Linked DNA regions of Homo sapiens: region 2 is linked to region 1. Evidence: promoter capture Hi-C in 16 types of primary human blood cells and fetal thymus (Javierre and others, 2016). All regions are on one chromosome and are shown on one strand. Each heading gives the region's core, a stretch centred on a gene start or on the middle of the fragment in contact. The rest is flanking DNA. Distances are from core to core; before and after follow the strand shown.

What was found. Contacts are between HindIII fragments. The CHiCAGO score rates a contact against its expected background, and 5 or more counts as called.
Region 2: the fragment with the promoter of LRFN1 here is called in contact with the fragment with the promoter of IFNL2 in region 1 in 1 of 17 cell types (erythroblasts); the score reaches 8.5 in erythroblasts.

The regions. Positions count from the first base shown.
Region 1 is chr19:39,264,053-39,270,717 of GRCh38, reverse strand. It overlaps IFNL2 (interferon lambda 2), which reads right to left and starts at 2,322. Exons shown (of 6, transcript NM_172138.2): 1 at 2,140-2,322; 2 at 1,860-2,041; 3 at 1,489-1,566; 4 at 1,081-1,230; 5 at 897-980; 6 at 530-803. The coding sequence starts at 2,149. The coding sequence ends at 705. It also overlaps the pseudogene IFNL4P1. RefSeq lists enhancers at 4,604-5,181, 5,182-5,761, 5,762-6,340. The HindIII fragment of the contact is 23,103 bases long and covers 1-6,665 here.
Region 2 is chr19:39,318,297-39,324,682 of GRCh38, reverse strand. LRFN1 (leucine rich repeat and fibronectin type III domain containing 1) reads left to right here and starts at 3,820. Exons shown (of 5, transcript NM_020862.2): 1 at 3,820-3,890; 2 at 6,325-6,357. RefSeq lists a silencer at 3,972-4,231. The HindIII fragment of the contact is 24,527 bases long and covers 1-6,386 here.

The DNA of each region.
Region 1 (6,665 bases), core at 1,073-3,572:
AGCCCCCAGTAGAAGGGGTGGAGGTTAGACCACTCCAGTGAGATTAGAGGATGGCTGACAACAGGATAGTGGAGGTTAACTCCCGGGAGGATGTTACAGGACCCTCCACTGCAGGAGGACATGAATCAGCCCCTATAGTAGGAGCATGAGATAGCCCACTGCAGGGAGGGTAGAGGTTAGCTTAGTGAGAGGAGTGGAGAACCCTTCAGCAGAGTCAGCTCAGGATGGACCCATAGCCAGGAGGGGGCAGGAACCTTAGTCCTACAGCAGCAAGGAACAGTGATCTGCCAACAATGTGACTGACCCTGGAAAGAGTTTCTCTTCAGAGCTCCCAGTAAGAGCCCAGCAGCAATGCTTGGATTCTAGCCTGTGAGTCCCACAGGAGAGAAACCAGCCAGGGCCAGCGAGCCTCTGACCTGCAGACTCCCAGCTCATCAAGTGTGTCTTTGGAAGATGCTACTTTTAGCGTTGTTATGGCAGCAACACAAAGGAAATACACACCAACAGACACACAGTCCAACGTCATGAGTGTCTTTTCCTTTGTTTATTTCAACAAGGGTTATAAAAAGTAGAAAAATAAACATTTTCCTGGAGGTGAGTTGGATTTACACACACAAATACATAAATAGCGACTGGGTGGCAATAAATTAAGACAAGTGGCTAATTTATAAATAAAATCTCAGGTTGCATGACTGGTGGGAGGGTCAGACACACAGGTCCCCACTGGCAACACAATTCAGGTCTCGCGTGAGGAGGCGGAAGAGGTTGAAGGTGACAGAGGCCTCGAGGCAGCCAGGGGACTCCTGTAGGGAGGAGGGGATGGGTCAGGGGCTGTCTGGGTTCTGGGCTCCCAGTGGCTCCCCAGACCTCAGTCCCTCTCTTCCCGGGTCACTCACCTTTTTTGGGGCCTCCTGGAGCCGGTACAGCCAATGGTGGAGGCGGCCCCGGGTCCTGGGCCCTGCCGTGGGCTGAGGCTGGATCTGTGGGCAGAGGAGGGCGGTGTGTGAGCCGGGGCCTTGGCAAGGGGAAGGACGCTGCTCAGAGCTCACAGACCTGGGTGCCCAGGCCCCAACGACTCACACAGGCCCGGAACTGGGAGAGGATATGGTGCAGGGTGTGAAGGGGCTGGTCCAAGACGTCCACCAGGGCTGGGTCAGTGTCAGCGGTGGCCTCCAGAACCTTCAGCGTCAGGGCCAGCTCAGCCTCCAAAGCCATGGGGCGCTCCCTCACCTGAGGAGAGGTGAGAAAGAGCAGGTGAGGGGGGAGGTGAGGGGAACAGGTTGGGGAGCAGGATAGAGAGGAACAAGTGAAGGTGACAGGCACAGGGGAGAGGGCACAGCCAGTGTGGTCAGGTGGGAGCGGAGGGAAGGGAGAGCAGGTGTGAGGAGAAGAGAGAGAGACAAGGGAGAAAGAGACGGTGAAGGGGCCACTACAGAGCCAGGTGAGTGGGGCTGGGAGAGCAGGGGTGGGCCTGACTCCCCCTCTCACCTGCAGCTGCCTCAGGTCCCAGGTCCTGGGGAAGAGGCGGGAGTGGCACCTGCAGTCCTTCAGCAGAAGCGACTCTTCCTAGACAGCAAAGGCACAGGTTAGCCCCAGCAGGAGGGGTGGAGGTTAGACCATCCTGGTGGGATTGGAGGATGGCTGACAACAGGATAGGGGAGGTTAACTGCTGGGAGGATGGTAGAGGACCCTCTTCTACAGGAAAACATGAGTCAGTCCCTACAGTAGGAGCATGAGATAGCCCACTGCAGGGAGGGTGGAGGCTAGCCCAGTGAAGGAAGCTGGGAGTGGGAAAGCATGGTGACGCTTGGAGTGGGGGTGGAGGCTAGTCCATGGCAGGAGGGCAGGGGGAGACTCACTAAGGCATCTTTGGCCCTCTTAAAGGCCTGCAGCTCCTGTGGAGACAGGGACTTGAACTGGGCTATGTGGCAGCCCCTTGCATCCGGGAGAGCCCCGTGGAGCCTGGCGACAGGAACTGCTCCAGTCACGGTCAGCACTGCGGCCATCAGCACCAGCACTGGCGTGCAGTCCCCAGTCATGTCTGTGTCACAGAGAGAAAGGGAGCTGAGGGGATGGAGAGGCTGCCCACTGAGGGCAGGGGCTGCAGGAGCTGAGCACGGACAGAGATGTGGGACTCACCTAGTTTCATTCCTGATCTCTGGTCTTTGTCAGCAGAAGAAACACTCTGAGGCTGTCACCCAGGGTCTGTTTGGGTCTTGTCTGGAGTCTCTGTTCTTTTCAGTCCCCTCTTCTGGATCTCAGACTGTGTCCTGGCTTTGACTCTTTCTGTCAGTTTTGAGCTCTGTCTGGGATGTAATTCCTGCCTGAGCTCCATGGGGCAGCTTTTATCCCTGACAGAAGGGCAGTCCCAGCTGATGTAGGAAAAGTGAAAACACAGCCTCAGGTAAGACACCGGCCACCAGGGGAGCCCCAGGCTGGGAAAGCCCAGAGCAGGGCAGGGCTAGTGAGCCAGATGAGCAGCTGGAGGGAAAGAGAAACTGATGGAGACTCAGGGGTAACCTACAGGAAGGTATGTTCCCAGGAGGATTCCACCTGCTCTGGTTTTGTTGTTGTTTAAGACAGGGTCTCACTCTGTCACTGGAGTGCAATGGCATGATCACAGCTCACTGCAGCCTCAAACTCCTGGGCTCAAGCCATCCTCCTCACCCAGCCTATTAAAGTGCTGAGATTACAGGCCTGAGCCACCCCTCCTGGCATATATATATATATATATTTTGAGACAGGGTCTTGTTCGGTCACCCAGGCTGGAGTGCAGTGCAAAATCTTGACTAACTGCAACCTCCACCTCCTGGGTTCAAGCGATTCTCTTGCCTTAGCCTCCCAAGTAGCTGAGATTACAGATTTGTGCCACCATTCCCAGCTAATTTTTATGGTTTTAGTAGAGATGACAGTTCACCAATTGGCCAGGCTGGTCTCGAACTCTTGACGTCAAGTGATCTGTCTGTCTTGGCCTCCCAAATTGCTGGGGTTGCAGGCATGAGCCACTGTGCCCAGAGGCCATGATTTCTTTCTTTCTTTCTTTTTTCTTTTTTTTTTGAGATGGAGTCTTGCTCTGTAGCCCAGGCTGGAGTGCAGCAGCGTGATCTCGACTCACTGCAACCTCCACCTCCTTGGTTCAAGGGATTCTTCTGCTTCAGCCTCCCGAGTAGAAAGGACTATAGGCATGCACCACCACGCCCAACTAATTTTTGTATTTTTAGTAGAGACGGGGTTTTGCCATATTGGCCAGGTTGGTCTTGAACTCCTGACCTCGTGATCTGCCTTCTTCGGCCTCCCAAAGTTCTGGGATTATAGGCGTGAGCCACCGCGCCCGGCCAGAGGCATATATGTGTGTGTATATATATATATATATATATATATAGAGAGAGAGAGAGAGAGAGAGAGAGAGAGAGAGCATGAGAGAGAGTGAGTGAGCAAGAGAGATGGAGTCTCGCTCTGTTGCCCAGGCTGGAGTGCAGAGGCACCATCTCAGCTCACTGCAACCTCTGCCTCCTGGGTTCAAGTGATTCTCCTGCCTCAGCCTCTTGAGTAGCTTGGATTACAGGCATGTGCCACCATGCCCAGCTAATTTCTGTATTTTTAGTAGAGACAGGGTTTCACCATGCTGGCCAGGCTAGTCTTGAACTCCTGACCTCATGATCCACCTTCCTCGTCCTCCCAAAGTGCTGGGATTACAGGCATGAGCCTCTGAGCCCAGCCAAGGCCAATATTTCTTAATTGCCCAGGCAAGGAAGGACTCAGGAATATGAGGCTCTGCTCAAGAACTGAGGTGTGACGAAGGACTTGAAGGACACCACGTGGGTGCCGTCTTTCTTAGGGAAGTTCAGGCAGTGGTGAAGAGCATGGGTCTTGGAGATGAAGGGTCTGGGGTTCAAACCTGGTTCTGACCCTCACTAGCCGTGTGACCTTGGCAAGGAGGGGTGCATTCAGCAACGCAGATTGCTAATGCACAGATTTGGAGAAAAAATTAATAACACAATTGTTTGTGTATTTATGTGAGTGATTATTTAATAGAATCCACTCATTAAGACCATACTAGGACCTCAGTTGGAGAGTTTAAAACGTGATCTCAACGGACACTACTCCTCCACAAGGCAAGTATGCTAACCCATCCTATAGGTGAGGAAACAGAGGCTCAGAAAAGTAATTTGCCCTGAATTCCACTGTAATTAACTGGCAGGGTCAGAACTGAACCTCAGGCCACCTGAGTCCCTGGCTCGGCCTCTTTTTTTGCTGTAAGGTGCACCTCACAATCATCATACGGAAAACAACCAATGCGATCAAAACACTCTTTGATAACTGGCAATAAATTTAAACCGGGAGACAGAATAGCAAATGCACAGGAACTTCACAAATACAAACACACGTAAGGGAATCCAAAGAACCACAGTCGGTTAAGGACCCTTGGGCCTTTCACTACCAAATCCCTCATGGATTGGTGTCCCTTAGATGCCGGATCCAAGAGTCACGGATTCACAGAATCTCAAAGCTGGCTGTGGGGCTACAAATCCGGGGTTAGGACCTGGTGTTGGGGGTGTCCTGGTAACCACACAAGGAGGAACTGGTCCCTGTTGCCTGGGGTCAGCCACGGTTTCCAGAGCTCAAGTTTTTTCCTGCCATAGCAACCGTTGGAGGGTCGTACAATGCACCCCGAGGAAATATCGTGGCTTCCTGGAGAACTGTGGTCTCTTCCCTGTAGAAGGACCCGCTCCTCTTATATCTGAGACAGTGGATCCAAGTCAGGCCCAAGGCTGCGAAGAAGTTCTCGTGCCTCAGCACCCACTGGCTGAGATCCTCGCCTGGCCGGCCCAATGGGCGACAGGGACCTCTTTCGGCAGCCAATGGCGTGGAGGTTTCCGTGCTGCCGGAGGGGGCGGGGTCAGAGGCAAGGCCCTGAGTGTGCAGCCAGCCGGAGCTCCCACGTGAGCAGGCGCAGGAGGTTGAAGATCACGCTGGCTTCGCGACACCGAGGGGAGTCCTGGAGCCAGGGAGGGAGGGCAGCGGGGCTAAGCCAGGCTCTTCCCTCCCGAGAAGACCTCTCCAATCCCGCCGCTCCCAGCCTCAGTGCTGTCCGTGTCAACCTCACTCGGTCCTCCGTGCAGGCTAACCCTGTACTGCCTGCTGCACTCACAGCTCTCCGCGGTTTGTGACGCCTCCTCTGGGCCCCGGGGACCTTCCTGGAGGAGCCTGGCCGTGCCAGCTGGAGGTGGGACGCGAGGCAAATGGAAAAGGCGAAGGACGGAGCCCCTCTCTGCATCTGCCCGAGGCCCTCCCAGCCGCAGACCCGAGCCCGGATTTGAGGACACCCAGAGGACCCGACCTGGGTCTGGATCGGTTTTTCCGCTAAGCAGGACAGATTGGCAAAGCGCTGGGGCTCGCCATGGGCCTGAGGATGCAGAGAAGCTGGCGGGGGCGAGGGGCGGCGGGGCGCGGCCGTCACTCACGCAGGCCGCCACGTCCCTCCCCGCGGCTGCCAGGGGCTCCAGGATCCGGCTGGCGCCGGGAAGCAGCTCCAGGCGGTGCAGGCCGCTGAGCACTGCCTGGGCGTCCGCGATGCTCCTGGCCACGTGGCGGAGCCGAGCGCAGGACTGCGGGGACTAGAGGGCGTTAGAGGGGGCAGCGCCCAGGCCATGCCTCTCCCGTCCGCTTCTGGGCCTCACCGATGGCCGCGGAGGATCCCTCCTGGGGCGGACGGAGCAGTTGCGCGACCTCCAACTCAGCGCCTCTTCCGCCTGCGGGACAAGCGGCGCTTATCGCATACGACTGGGCCCCCTCGCCAGGGCCCCTAACCTCTGCACAGTCTGGGATTCCTGGACGTGGATGGGTACTGGCAGCGTACGGTCGTGCCTGTCGTGTACTGAACCAGGGAGCTCCCCGAAGGCGTGAACCAGGGTTGAATTGCATCCCGCTCTCCCCCGGCATAGCCCTGCGCCCGCGACCTGGAGCCGAGTCCGCCCTGCAGGGCTCCTTTTGTGACTGACCCTGAGCCTGCGTTCGCGCTGACGACGGGGACTGCGGGGATCTCGTGGTGGGAACTGTGGGCTCTGACGTACAAGAGGCGCCTGCTGGGCGCTAGGACGCAGGACCCCTCGGGTCAGCGACGGGTGTGTGGGAACCCGGCGGGGCCAGTGTACCGGGGGGCGCAAGGGCTGGGCGGTCACTCACTTAGCGGTTCCTCAGCGCCTTGACCGCCGCCAGCGTCCGGGGCTCCAGCGAGCGGTAGTGCGAGAGCAGGCAGCGCTGGCGGATCGCCGCGCCCACCGTGCACACGACCCACAGTCCCGCGGCCACCGCGGCCCACACACTCGGTCGCATCTCTGCTCCTGAGGGACGTCAGGGAGGCCAAAGAGAGGGTCCCACGCGTCCAGTCCCCTGCCTTGGGTTAGGCTCACAGGGGAGGCGCAGCACACACAGAGGGAGAGAGAGCGGGAGCCGGCCCCCTCCTCGCCTTGGCCTCTGCCCTCACTTCTCCCTGCAGTGCACCCTCTGTGCCTCGTGCTGCAGCAGGTGCTGCCGGCCACTGTCCCCTGGGGGGCGTCCGGAGCAGTCTCCACCTGGGCAACAGTGCCTCGACGGACCATGCTGGCTTTTATGTGCAGGGCTGAGAGGGTTTGCAGCCGGTCCCCGTCCTGGACAAGATTTCG
Region 2 (6,386 bases), core at 2,571-5,070, 52 kb before region 1:
ATTGCAGATGTGAGCCACCACGCCCAGCCTGAGTTGAAATAATTTTATAGTGAACACTCATATACCCATCACTTAGATGCCACCACTGACACGTCAAGGTATTACTTCATCATATATCCATCCAGCCACCCTTCTTCCTCCTCCTTCTCCTCCTCTTCCTCTTCTTCCTCCTCTTCTTCCTCCTTTCTTCTTCCTCCTCCTCCTTCTTCTTCCTCTTCCTTTCTTTTCTTCTCTCTTTTCTTTTCTCTTCTTCCTCCTCCTCTTCCTCCCCTCCTCCTCCTCCTCCTCCTCCTTCTTCTTCCTTTCTTCTCTCCTTCTCCTTCTTCTTCTATTTCAAAGTAACATCAGACTGCTGGTTGGGGGCCCAGGTAGGGATGGTGTGTGTAAATTGGGGATGGAAAAGGAAGGTCTCTTTGAAGAGATTACATTTAAGACCATCATGAAAAGAAAGAACCAGCAGCCATGGAAAGGGGAGAAGAGTGCATATGCTCAGGGGCTGCTGCTGTGGGCTGGTGTGTTGGAGGAATAGGAAAGTCATCGTAGAAGCTGAACAAGGGGTCGGATGCGGTGGCTCACACCTGTAATCCCAGCACTTTGGGAGACTGAGGTGGGCGGATCACTTGAGGTCAGGAGTTCGAGACCAGCTTGACCAACATGGCAAAACCCTGTCTCTACTAAAAATACAAAAATTAGCCGGGTGTGGTGGTGGGCGCCTGTGGTCCCAGCTACTCAGGCTGAGGTAGGAGAATCGCTTGAGCCTGGGAGGCAGAGGTTGCAGTAAGCCGAGATCATGCCACTGCACTCCAGCCTGGGTGACAGAGTGAGGCCCTGTCTCAAAAAAGAAAAGAAAAGTCATTGTTAAAACTGAAAGAGGGGCCAGGAGTGGTGGTGCACGCCTGTAAACCCAGCACTTTGGGAGGCTGAGGCGGGAGGATCACTTGATCCCAGGAGTTCCAGACCAGCCTGGGCAACATAGTGAGACCCCCATTTCTAAAAAAAAAAAGAAAAAAAAAAAAAAGAAGAAGAAGAAGCTGGAACAGAAGAGGAGAGTCGTTGGAAATAGGGTCAGCTGGGACCAGAGCTCACAGGGCCAGATTGGCTCTATGAATAAGGCATATCTCCCTCGGTTTCAGCTTCTTTCTTCTTCCATCTGTCTCTCTTATTATTATCTTTTTTTCTCTCCCTCTCTTTTCTACTCCTGTCCAGCCCAGGCCTACCCTCACCCTCTTTCCCCATCACCCCTACCCTGTTCTGCCACATACTATCTGTGTGACCTTGGGCAAGTGACCAAACCTCTCTGTGCCTCTATTTCCCTTATCCATAAAATGGGGATGGTAATAGGACCTCTTCATTTGGCTGTTGTGTAGATTGAATGAAGTGATAGATGTGAAACCCTTAGAATCATTTCTGGCACATAAATAGTGCTGTATATGTGTTCACTTGTGTTGTTGTTGTTATTCCTACCCCCAAGCTCCAGCAGGGAGCACTAGCAACCACGGTGGGAGGTGGGGATGCTGCCTGGGTGGTGGCGATGAAGGGTGGAGTCTGGAGAATAGGGGGATTGTGAGTGTCCCCAGGGACATCTCAGAGTTGCGCTTGGGGTTAAGGTTCACCAGAAGGAGTTATCTGCAGAGCTGAGCTTGATCTGGGGGATAGGGCGGGCTTCATGTAAATAATTTAGGCCAGGCACAGTAGCTCATGACCACCGTGGTCAGGAGTTCAAGACCAGCCTGGGCAACATAGTGAGACTCCATTTATAAAAAAACTAAAACAAAACCAAAAACAAAACAGCTACTGAGGAGGCTGAGATGGGAGGAACACTTGAGCCCAGGAGGTCCAGGCTGCAGTGAGCTGTGATCACACCAGTGCACTCCTGCCTGGGTGATGGAGTGAGACTCTGACTCAAAAACAAACAAATAAAAAAAAAGAAAGAAAGAAAAATTAGACTGGGTGCGGTGGCTCATGCCTGTAATCCCAGCACTTTGGGAGGCTGAGGCGGGCGGATCACTTGAGGCCAAGAGTTCGAGACCAGCCTGGCCAACATGACAAAACCCTGTCTCCACTAAAAATACAAAAAGTAGCCAGGCATGGTGGGACATGCCTGTAGTCCCAGCTACTCGGAAGGCTGAGGCAGGAGAATTGCTTGAACCCGGGAAGCAGAGGTTGCGGTGAGCGGAGACCATGCCAGTGCACTCCAGCCTGGGCAACAGAGCAAGACTCTGTCTCAAAAAAAAAAAAAAAAAGAAAAGAAAAAAGAAAAAGAAAAGAAAAATTAGCCGGGCGTGGTGGCGCACACCTGTAATCCCAGCTACTAGGGAGGCTGAGGCAGGAGAATTGCTTGAACCTGGGAGGTGGAGGTTGCAGTGAGCCGAGATCGTGCCACTCTACTCCAGCCTGGGTGACAGAGTGAGACTTTGTCTAAAAAAAAAAAAAAATTAGGAAAGGGGTTTAGAGGAGGACCTCTGTACAGTGGGATCCAAAACGAGAAGGGTTTGAGACCCCAGGAATCTGGGGCACTGCATGAAACAACACAGATTTTTAGGGGAGAAGTTGCTGGGTTTAGGGACCCTGTGAATATCTCAGAAAGAGAAGGAGAGTGGCCTGAGATACTCAGTGGGGTTTGAGGGAAGGGGTGGGGTTCAGCTATGGGACAGGGGATGGGCAAAGGGGTCTGAACTAGGAAGGAGCAAGGCATTCTGGGCTCTATGGAAGTCACAGGGAGGGGGGACTTTCAGGGTCCAAGAGAAAGAACTGGAGCAAGAAGGAGGCAGGGTCCTCAAGGGGGCAGGACTAGTAGGGGGTGGGAAAAAATTGGGGCTAATTGGGGAGTTTTGGAAACCAAAGGATGTCTTGGAGGAGAAGGAGAGAGAAAGGTGTAAGGTCAAAGGGGTGGAAGATGGTTTGGGGTCTAATGGGGTTCATGGGGAAAGTTTAAGGGTCTTCCATAGGGATAAGAGACATTTTAGGGCCCCCTAGAAGTTAGGCATGGTTTGGAGTTCATACTGGGGGTAAGGGAATGGGTTAGGGTCCTTGAGGGTAGAAGGACATGGCTGGGGGTCCCCAAGAAGGAGTGGAATATGATTTGTGGTTCTGGTGGCTGTAGAATGTGGTTTGGGTCCCCAAAGGGAGTCAGGCACCATCTGGGATTTGGCTGACATATGGTCTGAAGTCTCCCCCGATGTTAGGGTATGATTTGGGGTCCGTGAGGGAAGGGGTGTGGTCTGGGGGTCTATCTGAATGTTGGGATATGATTTAGGGTTGCTGGTGGGGTGGTCTGGATCCCCTTGGATGCTGGGATATGATCTGGGATTCTTCTGGGTTTGGGGGCATGGTCTGGGGTTCCTGACAGTGTGTGGGTCATAGTCTGAGGTCAAGCAGGAGAGCAGGGCATGATTTGTGGTCCTGGGTGGCCCTAGAACATCGCCTGGGTTCTCAAAAGAGGTGAGGCCTGATCCGAGGTCCCCCTGGGTATTAGGACGTGATGGGAGGTCTCTGTAGGGAGATCCGGGGTCCCTAGGCCAGTTGGGGCGTGGTCTGGGGGGGTCTCCGGGGAGGCCGGCGGGGCTGGGGGTGGGGCTGGGGAAGGGTCGGGGGCGGGCCCGCGGCGGCTCGGCAGTGGAGAGGGGTCTGCGGCGGGTTCGGGGCGGGGATCCCGGGTGTGCGACCGCCCCGCCCGGCCGCCCCCACCAGTCGGCGCCCCCTCCCCCCTTGCGGCGGCGGTGGCGGCGGGCGGCGCGGAGGGCGGAGCTCGGCTGCGGCTCGGGAGGGAGGGCGGGAGGCGGGAGGGAGGCGGCCCCGCGGCACCGCGCCCCCTCCCCCGGCCCTCCCCCCACCATGGCGCGGAGCGAGGCAGCGGCGGCGGGGCCGGGCCCGGGGCCCCCCCGGGCTGGGTGAGCGCGGCCTGCAGCGGCCCGGGAGCGGCGGGCGGGGGCGCGGGTGTGTGCGCGGGTGTGAGCGTGCGAGCGTGCGAGTGTGTGTCCGTGGCGCTGCGGCGGGCCCGGCGTGCGCCCGCGCGGCCCTATGTGTGCCCGGTGCCGGCGTGTGCGGCGCCCTGCCCGTGTGGCCATCGGGTGTGCGCGGGGTGTCGAGCCCGGCCGGCGTGTCCGGCTGTGCACGCGTGTCCCCCCGAGCGGCCGCCCCTCCGGCTGTGTGTCTGGGCGCTGTCGCGCGCCCATCGGAGGGGCTGTGTGCAGGTGTGTGTGTGCGTGGGTTGTGTGCCCAGGTGTGGGTCCCCCCCAAGCCCATGTGCGTGCGCGACTAGCTGCTCTGGGTGTTTGTGTCCGGGTTGGATGTCCATCCCCGGGTCTGTGGAGCCGGGTGTGCCCGCTCGGGTGTCCATTTGTGTGTGTGTGTGTGTGTGTGTGTGTGTGTGTGTGTCTGCGGGTTGTATGTCTCCGAGGGTGTGTATCTGTGAGTCCACGGCAGGTTGCTGGCTTGGGGGCTGAGGCTCGGCGCCCAGGCCTCGGTGTGGATTTGGGGGAGGGGAGTTCGCCGCTCCCTCGGTCCATGTCAACTGGGGGGTCCTTAGCGGTCCTGGGGGAAGCGGCCATGTCTTCCCCTTCCCGGTGGTTGCGGGGGGGGGATGGGCGGCCAGGAGGTGGACAGATGGAGGGGGGATGAGAGGCCGAGAAATGGACAGATGGGCCCTGAGGTGGGGGTTGGGGGGCGAAGACCCGGCCCTTCCCCACCCACTCCACCCTAATTCCCCCACCGGCCAGACATCTGCAGACGGAGCCAGAGTTACCTCCATCCTGATGGCCAGGCTGGGGAACCTTTGGGGCTGCTGGTGGGAGGATCTCCTTGAAACGGTGATCTAGGACTCAAACCCCCAAATCCTCTTGAGTTTCCACCTGCTGAACTCTGACCTCTGGCCTGGCTTTTGCCCTGGTTTTTTGGGGGTGTGGAGGGCAGGATGCTGAATGTGCTGCAGGGATGTTAGGATTTCTTGGGCCTGGGAAGTAAGTAGGTGGGGTGGTGGGGGGGTGCCTCAGGGCTGGGAGGAATGTGTGTCCAAGACTGTGTGAGTGTGAATCTGGGCCTGTCTACTGACTGTGCTACTGTGGTTCAGTATTTTCTATGCATTTGGAAGTGTGTAAATCACAGGACTGTTGTGTGAGCATGTGTCTGTTATGAGTGAACATCTTGGCGTGTCTGCAAAGGTGGATCTTTTTGTGCCTGTGTGCGTGTTCCAGTGTGGATCAGCCTCGTATCTGTATGCTTGTGGTTTTGTGTGTGTGTGTGTGTGTGTGAGGTATGTATCTGTTAGCGTGGTGCTGTATCAACTTTGCAACATGGAGATGTGTGAAGTATGAGTGTGTCTAGGCATTTAAGAGTGTGCACTTGTGTATGTTTGCACAGGTGTGTGTGTGTTTGTTAGATGTGTGTGCCCCTGTGTGCTGGTGAGTGTGCAAGGTAGATCTGTTGTAAATGCATGTACCTGGTTGTCTGTTAGGGGGCACATGAGTTTCTCTGTTGTATCTGTGCATTTGTGTGTGTGAACTTGCATGGCAGAGTCAGTGTTGTACATGTATTGTTGCATGCAGGTGTGTCAACCTTGAGGGTATGTATCCATCTATGTTGTGAGTCTGTTTGTGTTTTGGTGTTGGTCTCTGGGGGTTGTGTATGTTCAGACATGTATGTGAAAGACACATGTGTCTGTGCCCTGGCACAAGGCTGTCCCTACTCTTGGGTTCAGTGGGTTTGAGGCCCATGTGGCATGACCTCTGGTATACTGGGGTCCCGCCTGGGGTCCCTGGACACAGTGTGTCCATATGCCAGGCCAAGTGCCCATAGAGGGCGGAGGGCACACAGATCATGTTGCTATGTTCATAGAAATCCAGATGTAGAGACTTGGGTTGTGGGCTTGCGTGGGTTCTGACATGGACACACATGTTGGTGTGGGCAATAGTATCATGGCAAGGATGGGAAACTTTGGCCCTTCCCCAGCTCTTGGTACCGTTCAGGACTTTGGAGTTGAGGGGCTGGGATGTAAACTCTTGGGTTCTAATGGAGGGCCAGAGGTCTGGTCTGGACTCTTGGGTCAGAGGGAAGAGGGGGCTGGGGTTCTTGGCTCCTGAAACCCCAGAGGACAAAGGGCTAAAGTCCTCGACTCCTGGGCTTTGGAGGGTGAACAACCCTGAGGCCTAATCTAGGATTCCAGAGAGGACTTCTGGGTTCCTGTGAGACTATGCAAAACCCGCCACAGGAGGACTGAGAGCGTGATCACACCAGGGACTTCCTTGGCCGGGATGGTCTCCAAGGCAAGATCTGGTGCACAGAGAAGAGCCAGAACGATGCTAACAAGGTGGTTCTGTTCCTTTGCAGGTGCTGGCCCAGGCCCTGACTCCCTGAAGAGAGGTGAGTAGAGCCGTAAGGCTTCAGAGAGA